Linked DNA regions of Homo sapiens: all the other regions are linked to region 1. The links are contacts of gene promoters, found by promoter capture Hi-C in human tissues and cell types (Jung and others, 2019). All regions are on one chromosome and are shown on one strand. Each heading gives the region's core, a stretch centred on a gene start or on the middle of the fragment in contact. The rest is flanking DNA. Distances are from core to core; before and after follow the strand shown.

Region 1 (4,445 bases), core at 574-3,073:
CTCCCCTCGCTGTGCTGGTGACCCGGCACCGAGGAAAGCACGCTCCCCCGGCCCCCAGGCAGCCCTCGCCCCCGGCGCCGGCGCCGCCCCATCCCCACTGGCTGCGCTCACTCCGGGACAGGCGTCCTCTCCCTGCTGCCCCACCAGGATGTACAGCGACTCCCCGAGACCGAGGGAGAAGATTGCTGAGACGAAGACGCCATGCGCCCGCGACAGGTGGTTCTTGGCGCCTTTGCCGCCCGCGGCTCCGTAGGCTGAGATCCTGCGGGGAACGGACGGTGAGTCCCCGGCCTTCGGTGCTCAGGCCGGCCGCTCCGGGCAGAAGTTGGCGACAGAGGAGGCTCCAGAATTATTTTTTATCTGAGGGACTTGGAGGCTGCAATCGACTCTGACGGGATGGGAAGGGTAGGTTTGCACACCGAAAAATCAGATATTACACTTATTTCAGGAGGGTTCGTGGAAATGTGGGGAGGCTCAAGCACCCCTTGGCGCCGCCCTGGTTGGGGGCCTTCCGCTCGGTGTAAGAGGTTCCGGGTAAGGGCTAACTCGGTGGCGACTACTGCCACCTTGAAGGGCACTCAAGGTGGACCTCCCCGCGGAATAGTCCAAGACGCAAGTCGGTGCGCACGTGGACTTCGTTACCCTGAGGGTGAAACCTCCAACTAGCAGGTCACTGTCCACCCTACCTCCGCCGTGCACTTACAGATACTGGCCAGGGCCCGGCACGCGCCACAGCTGCACGCCTCTCAGCTGCCCGGCGGCCCCCACGGTCACCACCACGCTGGTCCCCGCGTACGCCCCGTCACATTGTGTCTGTGTGGGCCCATGCCGGCCGCTGGCCCCGCAGGTAGAAAACAGCCAAGACCCCTCGGTGCCTGAGAGCAAGGAGCGAGGCAAGGGTCGTCGAGCCCCTGGCTGGGCCAGAGGGGTCTGGTATGGTGAGCGAAAGAGGAAGGAGGCGTCTAAAGCTCACCCGGAGAATTCAGCGGGGAGGCTGGCTCCAAGATACTAGGCGGGGCGCTGACTTTCGGGTCCCGGGGGCTGGGACTTGCCAGCGGCAGGGGCGAGGACCGCAGAAAAGTCTCCTGGGACCCCGGGCTAGAGCAGAGAATGGCGCCTGAAAGGTGTTGGGAGAAGGCGCAGGACGTTAAGGCGGGTGGAAATAGGATATGAAAGAAAGAGAGAACCCCGCAACAGCTGCCCTTGCGGTCGCGGCCACACCCGTCACCCGGCCCAGCCGCGCTCTCAGCCTGGAAGCCACTACCCGACTCCGGTCGCAGAAGCCCCGCGGGTGCGCGCTGATAGGTCTGCCAGTTTCTCTCCTCGAGCGCCTTTCCCAGTGAATAACTTAGGGGCCGCAATGAATTTGGTCCTGCAGCCTCCCCAATGCTTTCCTCAACTTAGATTGGTGGCCCCGCCCCAAGGCGGTGCTGAGACCCCAAAGAATGTTCCTCCTTCCCAAGCTGCGTGATCCAGACTCTGGGATTCGCACGCACTTGGCGCTTCTCGGCCCGCACTCCAGAAGCACGGACCGGAGAAATTTGGCTGTGAGAGTTCGAGGCCTCTGGAGGAACCACTGACACCTGGCCTGTTGACCGGCCACCCCCAAGCCTAGGAAAGTGCCTCAGGCTGGACGGTCCCCTGACCGCCAGATAGCACTTACCCGCGGCTCCGAACCACACCAGCAGCTGTCCCCAGCAGCCCATCCCTGTTGGGTCCACCCGGCAACAAAAGCCCTTGCGGTCGCGGCCACACCCCTGTCAACCTAAAGTTGACAGCTCATTTTGCCACGGCAGCCCTGGCCACCACTTACAGGGGTGTGCTGCCGCTGGCGAGACACTCCCCGGACCTAAAGCTGGTCTGGCCACGCCCACCTCAGACCCCAGGACGCCAGAGGAGGAAAGGGAGGGGCGTGTGGGCAGCGAGGTCCCTACGCTTCCGGGAGGAGCCTTAAGGAGTCCCCACCCAGGGGTTCTAGTTTCCAGCCGTCAGATGTGCCGCAGCCTGCTGGGAGCTCCGGTAGGTTTGAGGCCGGAGAGGAGGTGCCCCACGCTTAAAGTGGGAGCCACACCTCGGACACCAGGTGGGGGCTTCCAGGTTCCTGAGGACAGGAGCAGTGGAGTGTGCACTTCATTTGTGGCAGTGGTGGTGGTGGTGAGTGTGTGGCATGCGTCACCACACGTGGGAAGTACTCTAAACTGCTCCAAGTAAGGCCTCATTACCTGCCATTACTTGTGCCTTTTAGTGGTGCCTTTGTGACTGCAAGGCTGAACCTCATTGCTACTCCCAGAAACCTGGATCTCTGTGTTTGCCTCATATAATTCCGTTGCCTGTGTTACCCCTGTGCACAGCCTCTCACTGTGATGGGGTGAAAGACTGGACCAGACGTTAGAAGATCCGAGTGTTTTTAGTAGCACTGAAGGTCAATAGATGATAGGTAGGTAGACCGATCGATCGATTGATCTTGAGCACTAGTACTGGCACCTCTGGTCAATGGGTGATGTAGCACAGGCCACAACTGCCCTGAGAGTTTCCCCACCACCTGCAAAATCATATGAAGGGAAATTGCTCTGTAAGGTACCCTACAAATGTGGGAGCCACTCCCTTCAGGTAGTTTTGTGTCTTGAGTCTTCGATCATTTGCTTAAATGATCATTTGCCGGGTGCGGTGGTTCATGCCTGTAATCCTAGCACTTTGGGAGGCTGAGGCGGGCAGATCACCTGAGGTCAGGAGTTCGAGACTAGCTAGACCATCATGGCAAAATCCCGTCTCTACTAAAAATACAAAATCAGACACACGTGGTAGCGCACGCCTGTAATCCCAGCTACTCTGGAGGCTGAGGCAGGAGAATGGCTTGAACCTGGGAGGCAGAGGTTGCAGAGACGAGATCGCACCATTGCACTCCAGCCTGGGCAACAAGAGCAAAGCCCCATCTCAAAAAAAAAAAAAAAAAAAAAATCCTAACTTGAAAGTCTGAGACCTATGTTTAATACAAAATACTTCAAAAGAGAAGTTATAGTAGTTAGCTACTTGGTAAAGTCTGAGTATAATTCAAGGTGTAAACAGAACAGTGATTTTGTAAAAAGTCTGGTCTCAGCCAGGCGTGGTGGCTTACACCTGTAATCCCAGCACTTTGGGAGGCCAAGGGGACGGTGGGGGTGGGGTGGATCACAAGGTCAGGAGTTCAAGACCAGCCTGGCTAAGATGGTGAAACCCCGTCTCTACTAAAAATACAAAAATTAGCCGTGCGTGGTGGCAGGTGCCTGTAATCCCAGCTACTTGGGAGGCTGAGGCAGAGAATTGCTTGAACCTGGAAGGCAGAGGTTGCAGTGAGCCGAGATTGCACCACTACACTCCAGCCTGGGTGACAGAGTGAGACTCCATCTCAAAAAAAACAAAAAACAAAAAAACCCTGGTCTCTATGCCCTACTTAACACTAGATATCACACTATGAGATCACAGAATTTACCTTGCAAAGTCTCTTTAAGCCACTGCTCTTCAAATTGTGGTTGTGTGGTTTGTTCTGAACATCAGCATCAGTATTACCTGGGAACTTGTTAGAAATGCAGATTCTTGGGTTTCACCCCAGATGTACTGAATCAGCAGCTTCTGGTGGTAGGACCCAGTGATCTGTTTTAAAATATCCTCCAGATGATTTTTGTCACAAAGTTTGAGAATCATTGGTATTTGCTGATACAGTAGTTGCTTAATAAAACCTATTGGGGCCACATGCTGTGGCTCACACTTATAATCCCAGCACTTTAGGAGGCTGAGGTGGGCGGATTGCCTGAGCTTAGGAGTCTGAGACCACCCTGGGCAACATGGCAAAACACCGCTTCTAATAAAAATACAAAAAACTAGCCCGGTGTGGTGGTGCATGCCTGTAGCCCCTGCTACTCGGGAGGCTGAGGCATGAGAATCACTTGAGCCTCAGAAACGGAGGTTGCAGTGAGCCAAGATCATGCCACTACACTCTGGCTTGGGCTACAGAGTAAGACTCTGTCTCAAAAAAAAAAAAGAAAAAAAGGCTGGGCCCAGTGGCTCATGCCTGTAATACCAGCACTTTTGAAGGCTGAGGCGGGCGGATCATGAGGTCAGGAGTTCGAGTTCAAGACCAGCCTGGCCAACATGGCAAAACCCCATCTCTACTAAAAATACAAAAATTAGCCAGGCGTGGTGGCACGCGCCTGTAATCCCAGCTACTTGGGAGGCTGAGGCAGGAGAATGGCTTGAACTAGGGAGGGGGAGGTTGTGGTGAGCTGAGATTGCCCCACTGCACTCCAGCCTGGGCAACAGAGCAAGACTTCGTGTCAAAAAAAAAAAAAAAAAAACCCAAAAAAACCTATTGGATAATTCTGTGTTCAGCAGCTCCATTTATGAAGACTGGGTTCTCTCTACCTACTGACAGGGCTAGGCCTTGGCACACTGCTCTGACTCTGGTTACT
Region 2 (4,445 bases), core at 1,287-3,786, 240 kb after region 1:
GAGCTCTGGGTAACTCATCTGGTTCCTTCTTCCTCTAGCTTTTTTTCTGATTAGTATAGATGAGGAGAGGAACTAGAATTTGGGTAATTAATTTTCTTTGGTCGTTGGTAGGAGGCAGTGTGTAAATGTGAATAACATGCTTTTGGAGCCCGATAGACTGGTATTATAAAATATTAGTTTTGCTAGTTTGTAGGTATTTAACCTTGGGCAAATCTTTAATCTCTCTGAACCTCAGATTCTTTACCTATGAAATGAGGAAAATGCCCCCATTTGAAGTGTTAAATGAGGTAGTATGTGCAACTAGCATAATAACTGATATAAGTGGACTACTCAACAAAGGTTAGTTTCTTTTATCATTTAAGAATAGGCATTACATTCTAAATTTGGTTACTTTACTAGTTGAACAGGTGAGATACAGGTAGGAAAATTTTTCTTCCTGTTTCACTGGTGAGATGAAAATATGAAAGGAATGATGACTTGCTCAGGAAAATTTATTTCATTTTCTGTTTTAGTAAGCCTTATATTGATTATGGATTGGGCTGTGAGAAAGAGTAGAGAAGGAAGATATTTTGTGCCAGACATTGTACTTTTCCTGTCATCTCATTAACTACGATGATATGAAAGTAGCTATGAGTTGAGAAAGAATAATTCTTCGTTCCTACTGATGCTGAGAAAGTTGAAGGAGTAGAAAGTAGGACTAATAGTTTTCTTCAGTCCGGAGCTGTTTGCAGGCTACTTCAGTTACCTACTGGCTAAACTTGAAAGAATTTAAATCCCTTAAAAACTTAATTAGACTTAATGAGTTTAGTCTGGGATAATGAGTTCTGTATACTAAAACTGAGTTTGTAAACAATGGCAACAAACAAAAACTCTAAAAAATATTTGCAATAGTAACAGGAAAAATGCCGTGTGAGAACATTCTCTGACAAGCTGTGTAAGACTTTTCTTACAAAATTGTATTGAAAGACGAAGAGGAATTCAACAAATGGAGAGAGATAACATGTTAATGGATTGCAATAGTAAAGGGCCAAGAATAACCAACACACAGCACAAACACTGTAAGGGAACAGATTAAAATAAAAAATTAAAGATTTAGGCTGGGCGTGGTGGCTCACGCCTGTAATTCCAGCACTTTGGGAGGCCGAGGTGGGTGGATCACCTGAATTCAGGAGTTCAAGACCAGGCGGGCCAACATGGCGAAACCCTGTCTCTACTAAAAATATGCAAATTAGCCGGGCTTGTTGGCACACGCCTGTAGTCCCAGCTACTCGGGAGGCTAAGGCAGGAGGATTGCTTGAACCTGGGAGGTGGAGGTTGCAGTGAGCTGAGACTGTGCCACTGTACTCCAGCCTGAGACACAGTGAGACTCCATCTCAAAAAAAAAAATTAAAGATTTAATTAGATTTGTTTAAATTAATTGTTTAAATTTAATTAAAAATACAAGTTAAAAGAATTGAAAAATTCTGTCAGAACACCGTGAAAACAGTGAAAAGCCAAACTCAGATATGAAGAAAGTGTTTGCCATACGTATTAACTAACAAAGGATTAGTGTCAAGGGTATAAAAAAATTGTTACAAGTCAGTAAGAAAAAGATGACCCAGTAGAAAAGTAATGGATATTAGAGACAGTTGACAGAAGAAGAAGAAACCTAAAAGCCCAGCAAACACATGTACATTTGTTCAGCCTCACAAGTAATTAAGGAAATACAGATAAAACCACAGTGACTTTACCAATTCACACCCATAAGACTTCAAAAGTGGAGATTTCTGGTGGTACAGTTATCTAGGTGTGGAGCAATGGGAACTCGCATACTGCAAGTGGGAGTGTACATTGTTATTACCAGTTTAACAGTTACTGAAGTTGAAGGTGTGCATATCTTTCCTCTGCTCCTATGCCCCAGAAAAATTTTCACAAGGGGTCGTGTATGGGACTGTCCATTGCAGCATTGTTTGCTATTATGAAGATTTAGAAACAACCTAAATAACTACTAACATTCTGAAAAAAAAATTCGGGGAAATTCACATTGTGGAATACTATATAACTATATAACAATTAAAACAATTGGAATTGGAACTCTGCGTATCAACATATCTCAGGTGTAATTTATTTGTACTTTTATTTTCGATATTTTTTGTAGAGACGGAGTCTTGCTATGTTGGCCAGGCTAATTTTGAACTCCTGGCCTCAACCAGTCCTCGTGCCTTGGCCTCCTAAAGTTCTGGGATTACAGGCATTAGCTACTGTGCCTGGCCTTCAGGTGGAATATTGAATGAAACAAATGAGTTGCAGAAAGATATAGTATAGTATATAATATTTAAAGTGGTACTTTTTTTGTTTAGATATATATATATATATTTCTAGTAAGACTTACAAAAGTGTGCATGGTAAACTCTGTCTTAGAATGGTTACTTTTGAGAAGGAAGGAAGGGAATGTGATTGAGTAGACTGCACATAGAACCTTCTGTATTTTTGAGATGTATTATTTCTCAAGCTAGATGGTTCATATGTGGGTGTTCATTATACGCTTGGTCCTCCTTCACGGATGGGAAGACCAAGTTTATAATGGAAAAGCATGTATCCACAAATATAGAAAGCATGTATTTGTGGATTCACCCAACTGTGGATTGGAAATACTTGGAAGAAGAAAAATTGCATCTGTATTGAACATGTATAGACTTTATTTTCATGTCATTATTCCCTAAACAATACAGTATAACAACTGTTTACTTAGTTTTTACATTGTACTAGGTGTTATAAGTAATGTAGGGATGATTTATAGTATACAGGAGGAGGTGCCTATGTTATATGCAAATACTATGCCATTTTATATCAGGGACTTGAGTATTCAAAGATACTGCTGGAAGTTTTGGAACGAGTCTTCCCTGGATACTGAAGGACAACTTTAAATTTGTTTATATGGTTTTGTATATTAAATATTTCATGATTGTACAAAGTAATTTGAAGTTTTAGTGACTATTTGTACACTTTTAGAGAAAATATATAATGTCAAGTAAATAATGTGGCCATATATCACACCTTGGGAAAAAGAAACTGGTTGTAATTTGGAATGGTTTGGTTGTAGCTGTGAAATAGGTCTTAGATTATTAAATTTCAGTAAGACACTGAAAAATCCTGTCTTTATCCAGGTCCTGTACTCACATCTCTGCAGATGAAAAAGCAGCTGAAAGGAGTCGAAAGGTATTTAGGATATATTTAGTGATAATTACTCATTGAATAAAATTGTTAACATTTATCTTAGGGTTGAAACAACATTAGCTATATTAGCCACGATTTTTTCTCAGGGCTATTTTTGCCAGTGAGTTAATATAATCAGTTTTTTCTCCTTAATCAAATTATACTGCTAATGTCCTTTTTTTCCCTTTTAATTCTTCTCCTCAGAGGATAGACTAATGTAGAGGAGTTAAAAATGGATATGAAATTTATGAGAATATATGTGGTTATTTGAAAACTGTTCTTGTAATGGTCTGATGTAAAACAAGGTGCCATTCTTTCTTGCTTGGGCTCATGATTTTAAGTGATTTAAAAAACTATGCTCTGCAAAATGGCTAGCAGTTAGGGATCCATGAAAAAATAAACCTTTAATTTTCTTAATCTTTTTGGTTTATATCATAGTAACATAATTAAGCAGGGTTTTTTGTTTATCCTAACCAACAGTAGGCATGGAGGAGAGTTTGGTTTGTTTAAATTGTTTTCCACTTGTTTTTCTATCTTAATTTAAAAGATTAAAAAAAGACAATGATGGGGGTTGGGTTGAAGTAGAGGGTGGCATTTGGTTCCTTTAAAAAATCATAGTGCAGTTTGTTTGGTTTTGATCTGATTTGGGACTTATATGATACAGCGTATTTGCATGGTTGTAATTATTTGCATATATCATTATATTTGGCTTTTAAAAATTTATTCTGAAGCATTTTTCAGATATAACAAGAATTTTCATAATAGCTTATTTACATAATTCATTGTTTTGTACCCAAATAATTACATGCAAATTCTTGCTGCACTTTGCTATATTTAATGTTTATATTGCTTTTCTTTCTGTCTTCTTGGCTGTTTTATTCTCCCATTCTATGTTAATGCATAATGGGTTTAACTTTAGAAAGGCAGTGGCTTTTACATTAGAGTTTTTGGTTACGGTCAGAGTTACGATTAAGCAAACAGTGTCAGAAAAAGAGACAATTAGAAACATCAGAGGGAAAAATCACAAAACCAAGAAACTGCACAGGACAGGAAATATTATTCACTTTGTATGAGTAGTGTTTATAATGTCATAATAGTTAATGTTGATGCTTTTTTAACGTTTATAACCTGTGATTAAAATATAGAAGACTTAATTTCAGTCTTGAAAATGTGAGAATACAAATGACAAATTGGGAGGTGAGAGAGGGAAGAAGAAATAAAGGGAAGGATACAGGTGCTGATACCCTCAT
Region 3 (4,445 bases), core at 884-3,383, 160 kb after region 1:
TGGCATGATCTCCGCTCACTGCAAGCTCCGCCTCCTGGGTTCACGCCATTCTCCTGCCTCAGCCTCCCAAGTAGCTGGGACTACAGGCGCCCGTCACCACGCCCGGCTAATTTTTCTATATTTTTGGTAGAGACAGGGTTTCACTGTGTTAGCCAGGATGGTCTCGATCTCCTGACCTCATGATCTGCCCGCCTCGGCCTCCCAAGGTGCTGGGATTACAGGCGTGAGCCACCGTGCCCGGCCGTAAGCAATACTGTTTTAACAAGTAATAATTTTAAGCTTCTTCTTTGGTTGGGCAATTTATGGATTAGGATATCCCTCAGGCAGTAAATTCACAAATATTAGATACAAATAACGACTCTGAATCCATTTTGTGCCTTATATAGATAAGTTTTGTTTCCATTATGATTTGGCGTTATTTTTCTTCCCTTCTTCAATTATAGTAGGCCCACCACATCTACTGGTTCTGCATCCACAGTTATAGCTGGCCAACTAAGGGACTTGAGTATCCTCAGATTTTGGTATCTGGGGAGGGTCCTGGCACCAGTCCTCCTCAGATACAGAAAGTTGCCTGTAATCATGAGTTGTCTATACAATCAGTATTCCGTGGAGGCTGCAGCTGTGTATTCAACTAACCACAAATCCAAAATATTTGGGATGAGATGGGGGGGAGGATTTCACAAAGTTCCAAAAAGCAAAACTTGAATTTGACTATTGTGAATGATGCTGTTTTTTCTTTTTGTTTGAACTTGCCTTATTTTTGTTTGTTTATTTTTTTTGAGACGAAGTCTCACCCTGTCGCCCGGGCTGGAGTGCAGTGGTGTCATCTCGGCTCACTGCAACCTCTGGCTCCCAGGTTCAAGCGATTCTCCTGCCTCAGCCTCCCAAGTAGCTGGGATTGCAGGTGTGTGCCACCATGCCCGGCTAAATTTTTTATATATTTTTTAGTAGAGATGGGGTTTCACCATGTTGGCCAGGCTGGTCTCAAACTCCTGACCTCAGGTGATCCACCCGCCTCCGCCTCCCAAAGTGTTGGAATTACAGATGTGAGCCACCGCGCCCGGCCTGAACTTGCCTTATTTTGAGTTTTAAACCCAAGTTCAGCAAAAGTAAAGAAATCCCTGCACACAAATTTCCTTTACTTTCCTTTTCTTGCTAAAATTGTAGGCCACTAACAGCTACTATTTTTTGAATTTGGAATCTCCGTGCTCATGAGTTCCCCTTGTCTTGTCTATGAGCTGGTTATTGCTTTGCTTTTTCTAAGGATTGTTGCAGCAGGAGGAAGTGCTGCTCAAGCAATGCATAGTTTTTTTGTCAAAGGGGAAAGGTTCTTTCAGGTTATACTTTTTGCTGTGGTATTGTTTGTAATTGCAGCTGGTGGATGCCATCTTTAAACTTGATTCTTCAGCCACAGCTTAATCATCTTGATTATCTAACATAATTAAAATAAGATTTAAACAGTTGACCACAAATTATATTTTTACCCTTGTTATCCAGAAACAGTTTATTGTACCGTTGGATGATGCAGAATTTATTGAAATTCCTTTGGAGGATAGGGCCTGAAGGAGTTTGTTAGGTGAAAGGGTCAGACGTATGTTTGTTTGTTTTTCGAGATAGTGTATGGCTCTGTCACTTAGAATGGGTGCAGTAGTGCATTCACGGCTCACTGCAGCCCTGACTTCCTGGACTTGGGTGATTCTCCTACCTCAGCCTCCTGAATAGCTGGGACTACAGGCATGCACCACCATCCCTGGCTAATTTTTTGTATTTTTAGTAGAGAAGAGGTTTTGCCATGTTGCCCAGGCTGGTCTCAAACTCATGAGCTGAAGCGATCTGTCAGCCTTGGCCTTTCACAGTTCTGGGATTACAGGCATGAGCTGCCACACCCAGCCAGGCTTATTTTTTTGTTATAGAAAGCAGCTGTTGGGATTACATATGGTTAAGCCTTTGATTTTAATGGATCAAGAGAGTGGTTCAGATTTATTAACGTATAGTATCTCTGTCACTAAAGGGAGAAAAGCAACTTGAATCATGCTCCAAGAAATAGCATTATCTTTGTGTGTGAAAATGGTATTTAGCTATATGTAAACTTTTTTTCTAAATGCTTGATACGGGAGCAGAAATTATTTTTAGGCAGGAGTTGGACAAATCTGGCCTATAGCCTATTTTAGTATGTATACAAGAATATGTGACAGAGACCATAGATGCTTGTAAAGCGTAAAATATTTACTATCTGTTCCTTTACAGGAAAAATTTGCCAACCTCTGATTTAAGGGTTTAAAAAATTATATACACATGCGTGTGCACACACACACACACACACACACACTATTTTCCCATTTTCTATTCAGTTACTGATATATGATTGCTCTGTCATTCTTTGTTTTAGCTAATGTTATTGGTAAACACACTGATCTTTATTCAGGCTTTATTTGCTACATTTGCGGTTGCTTGACCATTTTTCTCCTACTTTAAACTCTTATTTTTGCTTCCTTGGCTTTTACCATACCATTCACGTGGTTCTCCTAACTCTTGATTTTTTCCCTTCTTTCAGTTATTCTTACTGACTCCTTATATTATAATATATTCAGATATTTATTACATGAAGGTTATTTCCTAGTATTATGCTCTCGTAGTCCTTAGTTTTTCTTTCTTTCTTTTTTTTTCTTTTTTGAGACAGAGTCTTGCCCTGTTGCCCAGGCTGAAGTGCAGTGGTGTGATCTTGGCTTGCTGCAACCTCTGCCTCCTGGGTTCAAGCGATTCTTGTGCCTCAGCCTCTGGATTAGCTGGAATTACAGGTGCATGCCACCATGCCTGGCTAATTTTTGTATTTTTAGTAGAGATGGCGTTTCACCATGTTGGCCAGGCTGGTCTTGAACTCCTGGCCTCAAGTGATCCTCCTGCCTCAGCTTCCCAAAGTGGTAGGATTACAGGCGTGAGCTACCATGCCCAGCTGTTGTAGTCTTTTTCTTTCTTTCTTTTTTTTTTTTTTTTTTTGAGATGGAGTTTTGCTCTTGTTTTCCAGGCTGGAGTGCAGTGGTACGATCTCGGTTCAATGCAACCTCTGCTTCCTGGGTTCAAGTGATTCTCCTGCCTCAGCCTCTGGAGTAGCTGGGATTACAGGCATGTGCCACCATGCCTGGCTAAGTTTTGTATTTTTAGTAGAGACGGGGTTTCACCATGTTGGTCAGACTGGTCTCGAACTCATGACCTCAGGTGATCCACCTGCCTCAACCTCCCAAAGTGCTGGAATTACAGGCGTGAGCTACCCCATCCCTGGCCATCTTGTAGTCTTATCTATGACTTTGACCTCTTCTCCCATCTAATACTGATTATTGTTATGTTTTGAGACGGAGTCTTGCTCTGTCACCCAGGCTGAAGCGCAGTGGCGCGATCTCGACTCACGGAAACCTCCGCCTCTTGGGTTCAAGCAATTCTCCTGCCTCAGCCTCCCGAGTAGCTGGGATTACAGGCACATGCTACCACACCCGGCTAATTTTTGTAGTTTTAGTAGAGGTGGGCTTTTGCCATGTTGGCCAGGCTGGTTTTGAACTCTTGACCTCAGGTGACCCACCTACCTCAGCTTCCCAAGTGCTGGATTACAGGGGTGAGCCACTACATCTGACCAATTATTATTTTTTATTTTTATTTTTAGACAGAGTCTGGCTCTATTGCCTCAGCTGGAATATAGTGGCGCGATCTTGGCTCACTGCACTTCTGCCTCCCAGGTTCAAGCAATTTTCCTGCCTCAGCCTCTGGGGTAGCTGGGATTACAGGTGCCTACCACCATGCCCGACTAATTTTTTTGTATTTTCAGTAGAGGTGGGGTTTCAGCATGTTGGCCAGGCTGGTCTTGAACTCCTGACCTCAAGTGGCCTGCTCACCTCAGCCTCCCAAAGTGTTAGGATTATAGGCATGAGCCACTATGCCCAGCTTAATAGTGATTATTCTTATTTTTATTTTTATTTTTTTTTTTAGACAGAGTCTTGCTGTGTCACCCAGGCTGAAACGTAGTGGCGTGATCTGGGCTCACTGCAACCTCCGCCTCCTGGGTTCAAGTGATTCTCCTGCCTCAGCCTCCTGAGTAGTTGGGACTATAGACGCATGCCACCACAGCCAACTATTTTTTGTATTTTTAGTAGAGACGGGGTTTCACCATGTTGGTCAGGATGGTCTCGATCTCTTGACCTCTTGATCCGCCCGCCTTGGCCTCCCAAAGTGTTGGGATTACAGGCGTGAGCCACGGCGCCCGGCCAATAGTGAATATTTTTAAAGCCACTGATGTTTCTAGCTTATTTGTCTCTCTTCTTAGTTCCAGACCTCTAGATCAAAATGTTCATTATTATAGAGAATTCCAGCTGAATTTTTCTTTTTACTTTAAATCCTCCCCTTTTTTTTGCATTAGCTATGATAGTCATTCAAATCGGAAACCTCTGCATTGTTTT

Evidence for each region. The method cuts DNA at HindIII sites, captures the fragments that hold promoters and counts their contacts. A contact is called where the count stands out against the background at its distance.
Region 2: a contact is called between a fragment that was not itself captured here and the fragment with the promoter of LTK in region 1, in 1 of the 25 tissues and cell types used here (lymphoblastoid cells).
Region 3: a fragment that was not itself captured here is called in contact with the fragment with the promoter of LTK in region 1 in 2 of the 25 tissues and cell types used here (dorsolateral prefrontal cortex and liver).

What each region holds. Positions count from the first base shown.
Region 1 is chr15:41,512,004-41,516,448 of GRCh38, forward strand. LTK (leukocyte receptor tyrosine kinase) reads right to left here and starts at 1,824. Exons shown (of 20, transcript NM_002344.6): 1 at 1,664-1,824; 2 at 974-1,117; 3 at 704-875; 4 at 112-262. The coding sequence starts at 1,706. RefSeq lists an enhancer at 656-1,403 and a silencer at 1,110-1,189. The HindIII fragment of the contact is 13,334 bases long and covers 1-4,445 here.
Region 2 is chr15:41,754,642-41,759,086 of GRCh38, forward strand. It overlaps MGA (MAX dimerization protein MGA), which reads left to right. Exons shown (of 24, transcript NM_001400225.1): 19 at 3,147-3,198. Among named protein-coding and RNA genes, the nearest start is that of MAPKBP1, 18 kb to the right of the region's middle. The HindIII fragment of the contact is 4,374 bases long and covers 350-4,445 here.
Region 3 is chr15:41,670,563-41,675,007 of GRCh38, forward strand. All of the region lies in intron 2 of MGA (MAX dimerization protein MGA), which reads left to right. Among named protein-coding and RNA genes, the nearest start is that of MGA, 12 kb to the left of the region's middle. The HindIII fragment of the contact is 6,232 bases long and covers 1-4,445 here.